Linked DNA regions of Homo sapiens: all the other regions are linked to region 3. The links are contacts of gene promoters, found by promoter capture Hi-C in human tissues and cell types (Jung and others, 2019). All regions are on one chromosome and are shown on one strand. Each heading gives the region's core, a stretch centred on a gene start or on the middle of the fragment in contact. The rest is flanking DNA. Distances are from core to core; before and after follow the strand shown.

Region 1 (2,700 bases), core at 121-2,620, 35 kb before region 3:
ATTACAGGCATGAGCCACCGCACCCGACCTATTTTACATTTTAACAATTGCTACTGAGGTTGAGCATATTTTAATTTATTTACGTCTATTCAGGCTTCTTGTCAGTTCAGTTTAACAAAACAAAACAAAACAGCTTATTGAGATAGCATTCACATCCCATACAACTCACCCATTTACAGTGTACAATTCAGTGGTTTGGAGGCAGTGGGCCTCCCCAGTGGCCATAACCCATCTGCTGCTCTTAGATGGGCCTTAGCATTCTGCCCTGTATTCCCTTCCCCATCCCGAGGTCCCTTCCTGGTGTCACATTGGCATTTACATCTTTAGCTACCGAAGATTCCAGGGCCAGGGCTTGGTCTCAGGCTGTGGCCTCCGCTGGGCTGTCTCCAGTCACAACCAAGGGTTATCTCAGATGTCCCTCCTGCCCACAGGGCTGCACACTCTGCCAAGAGACTCTCTACAGCCCTCAGCAGGGCGTGTCCTTGGTCTCAGGCTTGGGGGAAGGTGGGGTGGGGACAGAGTCAGGCCATCCATGAAGGACAGTGGCAGGACCTGAGCTCATTCTGCTCCCTGGAACCTAGAAGGTGCTCAGCAAATACTTGTGGAAACATTAGCGGGCAACATTGAGGGGCACTGATTTTGTGCCAGGAGCTGTGATCTGCCTTTTCCATTCTCACGTCTCCCTCTGTGACCCTCTCAAGAACCATGGCAATTAGGTGTTATTGTTACTTCCGAAAGGCTCAGAGACGTTAAGTAACCTACCCACGGTTGCACAGTAAATAAATAAACCAATGAACAATGCGCCATCCTAGAGCTACAGGTGCCGTCGCCCATCAAGGGTCTCTCTGCAAAGATCTGAGCCCCTTCCTCTGCCCTGAGTATGCCAGCTGGGCACACTGAGAGTGGAAATAGAGCCACAGTTGCTCATCTTGACCTGTGAAGCCTGAAGAGTGAGGACAGGAGAGGAGGGAGATGAAGATTTAGCATAGAGACCCTAGGAGGGGCCATGGGGGGCATGGGACCACTGTGGCTGGGGCCTGGGAGGACTTCCTGGCGAAGGCAGCATTTGCCACCAGGATCCTGCTGATATTTTCATCCTGTGACCTTCCCCTGGGGTTCTTTTTTCCTGATCAGGTAACTCCCTGCTAGCCCATTCCAGGAAACACAGAGCAAAGCCTCAGACAGCCTTGACTTGTCTAACCTGTTCCCAAGCCGGCTGTGCAGTGTGGTCCCTGGGGGCAGGGCCCTGGAAGAACAGGGCAGACACCGAGCAGCTATAGGTCCTGGCAGTGAGACAAGGGTAGGCATGGGAATTGGGAGGTGCAGCCCTGCCCCACGCCTGTTGGGTAACACTGAGCATCACCCCATTGATTACCCCATTGCCAGGCGTGGGCACGGGAGTTGGTTTGGGAGCTGCCAGTCTCCTGGGAGGATCGCAGTCAGCAGAGCAGGGCTGAGGCCTGGGGGTAGGAGCAGAGCCTGCGCATCTGGAGGCAGCATGTCCAAGAAAGGGAGTGGAGGTGCAGCGAAGGACCCAGGGGCAGAGCCCACGCTGGGTTATGTGGGGCCACAGGGGTGAGGGGCGGGCAGAGGGAGCTCAGGGTAAAGGACACTGGTGGGAACCAGGGGCATGGAGGGAAGGGGATGTGTGCCCATGGCCCGTGGGTCAGGGGGCAAGCCCACCAAGGGGCCTATGGCTGCAGGGGCCATGGGTACGGGGCTTGCTCAGGAGAGGGAGGTGGGTGCTGGTGTCTTCTGAGCCTCACTTTGCCCTTTGGCAGGCTCCTGGGAAGCAGCCACAGAAATGAAGCCTGTTCCCCAGGAGCCCCAGGGATGGGGACAGACCCCGTCCTCCCTTTGAGGAGCTCCCAGGTTAGAGGAGAAGGCAGCTCTGTGGACAGACAAGGATTGGGTCGGGGGCACCAGGGCTGTGATCAGGAGGTGCCGGAGAATCGGGGATTGGAAGCAGAGAGATTCTTGGCAGTTGAAGCGAAAGTCGGATCTTTGGTTTCAGATGTTAAAAGCAACATGCATTGCTTGTTTCTGGTTCTAGAAATACTACATTCGCATTTAGAAAGTCTGGAAGCTGCAGGAAGATGTTGAGAAGACAGTGAAAGGCACGAGGCACACATTGGCACATGGTGTCACAAGGCTGGTGTGAGGAGAGGGGCTGGGGGGCCTCCCTCCTCGCACTGAGGCTGTGAGGAGGGCAAATCAAGTCGTCTCTGGGAGCCTCGGTTTCCCTGTCCTTCCAACTGGGTAATAATAATAGCTGTGAGGCTCAGATGAGATGTGCATGCCAGCTACCTGGCCCCAGATGCCAGCTCTGACTTCTTTCTGGGCCCTGCACCAGGCATGGCCACTGCCAAGGGAATGAGTCCCCTCTCCATATGACAGGTCCCATCAGGCCTCCACCTTCCTGTGTGTCTTATTTCTCAGCATCTGCCCCCACAGGGCTTTTGCACACGTTGGTCCCTCTGTCCAGATCACCTGCCCTCCAAGAGGCCCTCCCCTACGGCTTCCCCGCAGCAGTCAGAGCCAGGGGTGGGTCTCTGGCCACCTCTGGAAGAAGCCCTGGCCCACCGATCATGTTTGTAATGATATTGTTTCCGGTGTCATTGTTCCGTGTGTAGACTGTGAGCTCCATGGGGGCTGGCCAAGTCTGGGGTGGTCACCTATGGGACCCAGGTCCAGTCAGGA
Region 2 (2,707 bases), core at 42-2,541, 46 kb after region 3:
CTCTTTTAAACGAGATTTTCATGTAGTAGTAATAAGAGATTGTAAAAGATTTTTGTTTGCCTTTTGAGCAAACTGCAAAGTGAAAAAAATAAAAAAAGAGGAGCGAGTTTGCCTTATGCTTCCTTCATTAGGTCTTTGGATTGTTTAGAAAACTGAGTCTCCTCTCTATCAAACAATAAAGGTTTTTGCTTTCGGAAATCTTTTTTTTTTTTAGATGGAGTTTCGCTCTTTTTGCCCAGGCTACAGTGCAATGGTGCGAACTTGGCTCAATGCAACCTTCCCCCCACCCCCCGTGTTCAAGCGATTCTCCTGCCTTAGCCTCTTGAGTAGCGGGGATTACAGGCACCTGCCACCATGCCCAACTAATTTTGTATTTTTAGGGGAGACAGGGTTTCACCATGTTGGCCAGACTGGTCTCGAACTCCTGACTTCAGGTGATCCTCCCACCTTGGCTTCCCAAAGTGCTGGGATTACAGATGTGAGTCACCACACCCAGCTTTTCTGAAATCTTTCAGTTATCACTTTGGCTAAATGAATGACTATTATTTTGAAGTTCCCCATGATTCTATTTTGAACAAGTCTTTTAAACCTTTTCTATTTTAATATCAAGTGTTTTAAAGCTTTGGTATTTGACAAACTTCCAAAAATGAAAATTCAAATTCTAAATTAAGCCATTTTGACCTCAAACTAACGTTTCAACATTTGAAAAAGAAAAAAAAAACCCATGTAAGTTCAAGAGAACTTGGTATTATTTGGCATGTAAAAATTACACAGCAAGCATTGTCAAAAAAGAAATGACATTTAACTTTCTTTGAGTTATATTTGTGAAATGTGTTATTAATATGTGTTCCAAAATTATATGAGATTCCTAAAAATCTGATATGTGTTGGTATATATTATCAGTCATTATTGTAAGTATTGTGTTGAATTATAGTGATACGGAAGGGGGGCAGGGAAGTGCTGGGTAGAGGAATGTGTAGTCCCTGGCTAGGGCTCCACCCCCAGGCCTGTGCCCATGGACCTGGGTGAAGACAGGCATTTTTGTTTTCCTGCCCAAATATTGCATTTCCAAAGAGCACCCTGGCCCACCACACCCATATCCTGTGCCTATAAAAACCCTGAGACCCTAGCAAGCAGACACACAAGCAGCTGGACGTGGAGAGGAACACATTGGCAGAAGAAGACACAAGTGGCTGGACGTTGAGAGGTCATTGAGGGGTGCCAGCTCTGTCCCACAGACCCTGGCCAACAGAGGAAATGAGTACCCAGACACAGGTATGCAGTGTTAAGAGCAGCTAGGTGACTGCCTGGCTCTAGTGGAAGAAGCTGGAGCTGCTTTGCTTTTATTCAGTGCAGGCACAATGTCGAAAACCTGGAGCCGACACAATCTGTAAGTCATTAATATTTATTATTCCCCTTTCAGGGAACCTCATGTTCCCTGAAACATGATCATAGGTGATCATAGATGATCTAAGGTCAGTTCCTGGTCGACATAAGTAAACATGCCTATTTAAGATAAAATCCCCCATACTCCCTTGTACCTACTCCTTGCCCTCTGCCTCAGGGTTATAGAAGAGCTGCCTTCAGTTCTTCTCCCCCAGGGCTCTGCAGAACCTTCCCACCTTTCAGAAGGTTTGCGTCCTTTCCCTATAGTTCTTCCCACCTCTCTGACCAATCTGCCACAGAAGGGAGCAGGCTGGTGGAAGAGCACACGACAGACGCCAGCATGCCGGCAGGCCATCCACCTGCAGAACGAGGCGGAGTTTGGCCGGGCAGTCAAAGGCAAGCCCAGGCCGCTGAGCAGCCTGACTCCAGGGCAAAACCTTCCCACTCCATGCCCTTCTGGCTTCCTCCAACTGCTGAGAGTTACCTCCACTCAATAAAACCTTGCACTCATTCTCCAAGCCCAGGTGTGATCCTATTCTTCCAGTACACCAAGGCAAGAACCTGGGATACAGAAATCCCTCTGTCCTTGTAACAAAGCAGAGGGTCTAATTGAGCTGCTGGTTAACACAAGCTGCCTATAGATGGCAAAACTAAAAGAGCACCCTGTAACACATGCCCACTAGGGCTTCAGGAGCTGTAAACATCCACCCCTAGATGCTGCCGTGGGTTGGAGCCCCACAACCTGCCCATCTGTATGCTCCCCTGCAGGTCTGAGCAGCGGGGCACTGAAGAAGCGAGCCACTCCCCCATCACATGCCCTGCAAGGGGGACAAGGGAACCCTTCCCGTTTCAGTAGGCCACAAAAAAATAAAATGACCAAATTTCTTTGTTGATTGCATCTTTGACCATGACTACTTTAAATCTTGCCCTATTCCTTCTTGGAGAGCTCCCTCCAATCTTCATGGAAACTAATGAACCCATTTCACTGGTCAAATAATTCAGTTTATTTGTAACGTATGGCTGATTTTTCAACATTTCCATTGTCCATACCACCCTCAGTCTTCCAGACTTGTGAAATGCACAAATAATAAAAATCAAATTGGCAAAGCTTATAGAAACTTTTTTTTTTTTTGAGACAGTCTCCCTCTTGTCGCTCAGGCTAGAGGGCAGTGGCGCGATCTCAGCTCACTGCAACCTCCGCCTCCCAGGTTCAAGCAATTCTCCTGCCTCAGCCTCCTGAGTAGCTGGGATTACAGGCACCCACCACCATGCCCAGCTAATTTTTGTACTTTTTAGTAGAGACGGGTTTCGCCATGTTGGC
Region 3 (2,700 bases), core at 94-2,593:
GCCAGGGCAGATGACTACACCTTGTTGTATAGCCTCAAGGGGCTGCTGGGACCCTCCAACTCACACAGAGCACTCCCATCTTGCCTGGCAGCAACTCCAAAGTGCTGGCAGCCTTTTCTCACACAGCCGGGCATGGGGTTGGGCCAGGGGCCGGCCCTCCTCCTTTTACATCCCCCAGAGCCAGCCCACCGTCTTTGTGTGGGGTCCCATCCAGCTCTGCAGGCTGAGATGTGAGACACAAGGGATTGAGCCACAGGCATCCCTGAGCTGCAGCTGCGCCCAGAACATAGCGCTCAGGGAGAAGCAGCCCTGCCGCCCCCCAGCCCCTCCATGCCCCCTCTTAGGAATCAAGGCCACTGCCAACCCAGCATCCCCAAGACAGGATTCTGGAGGAGGTATGGGGGGCTCCAGCCAGACGACCCACTCTGTGCCATTCAGCAAGAGTCAAAAGGCCAGCGAGCACTCTCAACCAAGGAACTGGCAGCCTCTCAGGGGGACCTCCAGGTTCTGCCTCCCTGCAGAGTGATCCATGTGTCCCCTGAATGCCCAGCACAGGCTGTAGACAACCTGGAGAGGGTGCCCGGTCAGGCCAGAGAGAACAGACAGACCCACAGGCAGAGCGGACGCCCACTTCTCACCTGGGCCAGCCTCACCGTTTCCACTCATGTCCAGATGGGGATTCCGTGGACACCATCAGCCAGGGCAGTGCCCCCAGTTCCAGGCGGGATGGGCTTACCGCTCTCCAGGCTGGGCTAGACCATCACAGGCGGAAGAGATTATGTGCTTAGGTTAACTGGGGAGGCTGAGGCACGGAGACTGTGGGACCTGCCAGCGTTGCGCAGCTCCCTGAGTTCATCCATGTGTCTGTGCGTGTGGGTTCACGTGCCACAGGACCTGGGCTTCCCGCCATCCAGTCTGGGGCTCTATGCTGACTGCACTCGTTGCTGCTGCCCCCTTGCGTTTCCTGCTCACACTGCTCCTGACAATTGCGCATCTGCCGGCCGGCTGGGGCCAGCCTCAGGTCAGGGGTCTGGGTCTTGGTGGGAGGGCACCTCCTCCGCCATTCAGCCCGCAATCTGCTGCTCCCACTGTGCCTCCCAACCCCCGGGGCCCCAGCCCCTCCAGTCAGCCAGGCCTGGACCCCTGCAGATGCCCAGCCGTCCTCAAGAACCACTCTCCCACCCCCTCACCCCTGCCACGCCTGGGCCCATCGATCAGGAATGGCTGGGGGGCTCTTAGCTGGGGAAGGGAGGAACTTGAAGAGGGAGGACAAGGAGGGAGGAAGGGGGGCTCTGCAACGTCAGAACCTTCCCACCTGCCCTCCTCCCGCACAGCCTTGGACAGCACAGCCCGAGAGTGGCTTGGAGAAGGGCCGCTGCACGCCCCAGAGCCTGCATCTCACCTTCGGAGACCAGGGGTCCAGCTCGAGTAGGAAGACCACGACCTCAGGACGTGGACGAAGGGCGATCGAGGAGGCAAGGACCGTCCTGCCGAGAGACTACAGCTTGTGTGAGCACCTGAGGGCTGAGCTGAGGTGCCGAGTGGACGAGTGGTGACCACCCCTTCCAGCAGGCAGGTTCCCAGCCCCAGCCAAGCAGTGTTTCTCCAGGAGCCGGACAGCCTCTCTGTCTCCATGGCAGGTAGGCTACGTTCTGAAGCAGAGGTGGCCTCATGGGTCAGGCTCAGGTTCCAGGGTGGGTGGGCAGGGTGGGAACCAAGACAGCCCCGCTGAACCCAGGTCCTTCACAAGAGGGTGGGGCAGGGGCACCCCAGGCTAAGGTCTGAGATCCCAACGGGACAGGGCTCACGGCTGCCCAAGTGCAATTATGGGAGATGCCAGGGACCAGGCTGTTCCGGGAGATGAGCGCCTCACTGGGCACGTGTGACCTCGGGCCTCTCCCTGAGCCCCAGCTCCTTGAGCATCAAAGTTGGGGCTGGACAAGAAGCCCTTAGCTTCCCTTCCAGACTTGACACTCGATGCTTCTGGCAAGCTGTCATCTCTGGGCCCTGAGGAATGCTGGCTTCTAGAGGGACTGAGCAAAGGACAGGCTCCCCCCACCAGAGTCCCTGAAAGTGTTGAGGGGCAGCACATTGGCTGCGACGGGCAGCGGGTGAGCCCCTAGAGGACTTGGGAGCCAGTGACCACCGGCAAAGCCTCCAGGCCCAGTGAAATCATGAGCCCCCCCACCTTGGGACCCATTGCCATGGACCCAGGGGGGCTGGCATCACCTGGATGACGTACCCGCCCCAGCAGGGCAGCCGGGCGACAACCAGCTACCCTTCTGATGGACTGGCCACAGGGGCAGGGGGACATCAGCCCATCTATCCATCCTGCCCAGGGTCCTCAAACCTGATGTGACCCATCCCTGTCACAAAGACGCCCCCTCCCCCGCGAGGCTGCAGAAATCCCAGGGCCTTTGCACGCAGCTCTCAGGGCTGCTGAGGACGTGGCCATGGCCCTGGGCTCCACATTCTCCCCAGGCACCTACTAAGAGCTCACCCTGGCCAGGTGCCGTCCACCTGGTACCTCAGCAGATGCTATGCCACCTGGGGGCCTCCGTCACCCGCCTGTCTGCCAGTTCATCCATCTCTCCAACACCCAGCACCCCCCTCTGCTCCAGGCATCCCATAGTCTTACAGTCGTGTAAATATCCCAAAGCCACTCGGGTGGGGACACAGCTGGGAATAAAACCTTGTCCC
Region 4 (2,700 bases), core at 135-2,634, 59 kb before region 3:
GTGAAAAGAAATAAAATCATCAGGGGGTGACATTAAGCCAAAGTCACCGGAGTTAGATATTGAATCCTCAACATTCTCAGGTTGGGGAGGAGTAGGTGAAGGGAGAAGCTGAGCAGATAACAAAGGCCGAGTGGGAGAGGAAAGCTGAGGAAGAGGTAGAGGGTCTCCAGATTCAGAAAACTGTGGTAACTGCAGGGGGTCACAGGATTGGTATGTCATTAGGATGGCACGTACCAAGGCCCAATCACCCCAAACAGTGACGGGAGCATAATTTCCTGTTGGGACCGGTTCCCGGAATTTTGCACCAACACAATCCCAAAGTTCCACATCTAACGTTCCCTTTTGAGGAAACCAAGGACAGTGTTCTTCCACCGCCCTGAAATGGGTGACCATATTTTCCATGGGTACCCAAACTCCTCCCTGTTTTAACAGGAGTTTAATATAGCAGAGATAAGCATAATGTTTAGATTCTGCATGACTCATAGTTACCCCGGACAATACACAGACAACTCACCAGTTGTCAGGGAGCCGAACAAGGGTTTCTGTGGACCGGACCGATGAACGTTTCTACATACCTACCAAAGGGAATCGGGTTCCCACATGCACTTAGGAAAAAGAAAACCACGTTGGTGTGCCAGATATTGGGGGAACCCACCCCCAATATTTCAATGTAGGTTCTTTCTATTTTCCATAAGTGTCGGCTGGCTGAGAAATAGAGAGACAGTATAAAGAGAGGAATTTTACAGCTAGGCTGCCGGGGTGACATCACATATCAGTAGGACCATGAGGCCTGCCTGATCCTCAAAACCAGCAAGTTTTTCTTAAGGGTTTCAAAAGGGGAGGGGGTGTGAGAACAGGGAGTAAGTACAAAGATCACATGCTTCAAAGGGCAAAAAGCAGAACCACTAATAAGGGTCTAACAAAGATCACAAGGCAAAGGGCAAAAGCAGAACTACTGATAAGGGTCTATGTTCAGCAGTGCATATATTGTCTTGATAGACATCTTAAACAACAGAAAAGAGGGTTCAAGAGCAGAGAACCAGTCTGACCACAAATTTACCAGGGCAGAGTTTTTCCCCACCCTGGTAAGCCTGAGGGTACTGCAGGAGACCAGAGCATATCTCAGTCCTTATCTCAACTGCACAAGACAGACATTCCCAGAGCGGTTATTATAGACCTCCCCCAAGGAATGCATTCCTTTCCCAGGATATTAATCTTAATATTCCTTGCTAGGAAAAGAATTTAGCAATATGTTTCCTACTTGCATGTCCGTTTATAGGCTCTCTGCAAGAAGAAAATATGGCTCTTTTTGCCTGACCCCACAGGCAGTCAGACCTTATGGTTGTCTTCCCTTGTTCCCTAAAAATCACTGTTATTCTGTTCTTTTTCAAGGTGCACTGATTTCATATTGTTCAAACACACATGTTTTACAATCAATTTGTACAGTTAACACAATTATCACAGTGGTCCTGAGGTGATGTACATCCTAGCTTATGAAGATAACAGGATTAAGAGATTAAAGTAAAGACAGGCATAAGAAATTATAAAAGTATTATTTGGGAACTGATAAATGTCCATATTAAAATGAAATCTTCACAATTTATGTTCCTATGGCACGGCTCCAGCTGGTCACTCCGTTCAGGGTCCCTGATTTCCTGCAACAGCAACTCTGTTCAGAAGAGGGCAGGACAGACAGTGGCAGGCCTCATCAGAACCCGAAGGCCATGCAGAACCTTCTCATGACAGCCTCCTGGGGGAGACAGGGAGCCAACGGGAGTGGTAGCAGCTCCTACAGGCCTCCCACTCTCTGGAGGATCACAAAGTGTCCTGTCATGACTCAGATGAGCCTCAGTTTGAGCTTTCGCCTCTGTAGCCTGTGTGGATATGTTCAGGGCCACCAGGGTGCCATGGTGGAGCCGTTCCCTACACAGCCTGGAGGGCTTGTGTGAAGTGGCTGTTTATAATGAGCAGACTTAGGAGAAATTGAATAAAGAGGTTTTCATGAAATGTGTAAGTGGGAATATGTTGCCTCAAAAATCCAAGTAGCCCCAACAAACGTTATTAGAAAGCCTGTCTTAGTCTGCAAATTAACACCACAAATTGGACAACTGATAAAAGAAATTTATTTCTCCCAGTTTTGGAGGCTGGGAAGTCCAAGAGCATGGTGCTGGCTTTGGGCAAGGGTCATCTTGTGGCAGAAGGGTGTAAGGCAGAAGCAAGCATGTGAGACAGGGAGGAAATCAGGCCGACCTCACTTTTATAACACACCCAGTCTCGTGATCACTAACCTACTCCTGCCATAACAGGATTAATTAATTCATGGGGGCAGAGCCTTCATGACCTAATCGCCTATGGAGGGTCCCCTCCACGACATTGTTACAATGGCAATTACATTTCCTTTTTTGTTTGTTTGAGATGAGTCTCTCCTCCCAGTTTGCCAGTAAAGCTCCTCTTTCGACTGTGTAGCCGTCCTGGTGGTCTTTTGGATGACAGTTAGGACAATTTTTTTCCTTGACCTGAGTCATTTTATCTTCACCTTTTGTAATTAGGGATATTTTAGGGGGGGGGTTTATTTAATTTTTTTCTCCAGGGAGTCTCAGTGTGCATGACCATGTCACGGCAGTGAGGACAGCAGCAGTAATGTACCTGCTTGCCGAGCCCTGAGGAACCTCTGCCATGGGAATCCTGGGGCTCTGAACA

Evidence for each region. Contacts are between HindIII fragments. The study calls those that stand out against the background at their distance.
Region 1: the fragment with the promoter of ALDH3B2 here is called in contact with the fragment with the promoter of TBX10 in region 3 in 1 of the 25 tissues and cell types used here (liver).
Region 2: a contact is called between a fragment that was not itself captured here and the fragment with the promoter of TBX10 in region 3, in 1 of the 25 tissues and cell types used here (spleen).
Region 4: a contact is called between a fragment that was not itself captured here and the fragment with the promoter of TBX10 in region 3, in 2 of the 25 tissues and cell types used here (H1 embryonic stem cells and thymus).

What each region holds. Positions count from the first base shown.
Region 1 is chr11:67,673,293-67,675,992 of GRCh38, reverse strand. It overlaps ALDH3B2 (aldehyde dehydrogenase 3 family member B2), which reads left to right and starts at 1,370. Exons shown (of 10, transcript NM_001393402.2): 1 at 1,370-1,557. The HindIII fragment of the contact is 24,145 bases long and covers 1-2,700 here.
Region 2 is chr11:67,592,486-67,595,192 of GRCh38, reverse strand. No RefSeq gene overlaps it. Among named protein-coding and RNA genes, the nearest start is that of GSTP1, 10 kb to the right of the region's middle. The HindIII fragment of the contact is 3,217 bases long and covers 1-2,707 here.
Region 3 is chr11:67,638,406-67,641,105 of GRCh38, reverse strand. TBX10 (T-box transcription factor 10) reads left to right here and starts at 1,343. Exons shown (of 8, transcript NM_005995.5): 1 at 1,343-1,640. The coding sequence starts at 1,634. The HindIII fragment of the contact is 9,108 bases long and covers 1-1,964 here.
Region 4 is chr11:67,697,513-67,700,212 of GRCh38, reverse strand. No RefSeq gene overlaps it. Among named protein-coding and RNA genes, the nearest start is that of ALDH3B2, 24 kb to the right of the region's middle. The HindIII fragment of the contact is 5,827 bases long and covers 1-2,700 here.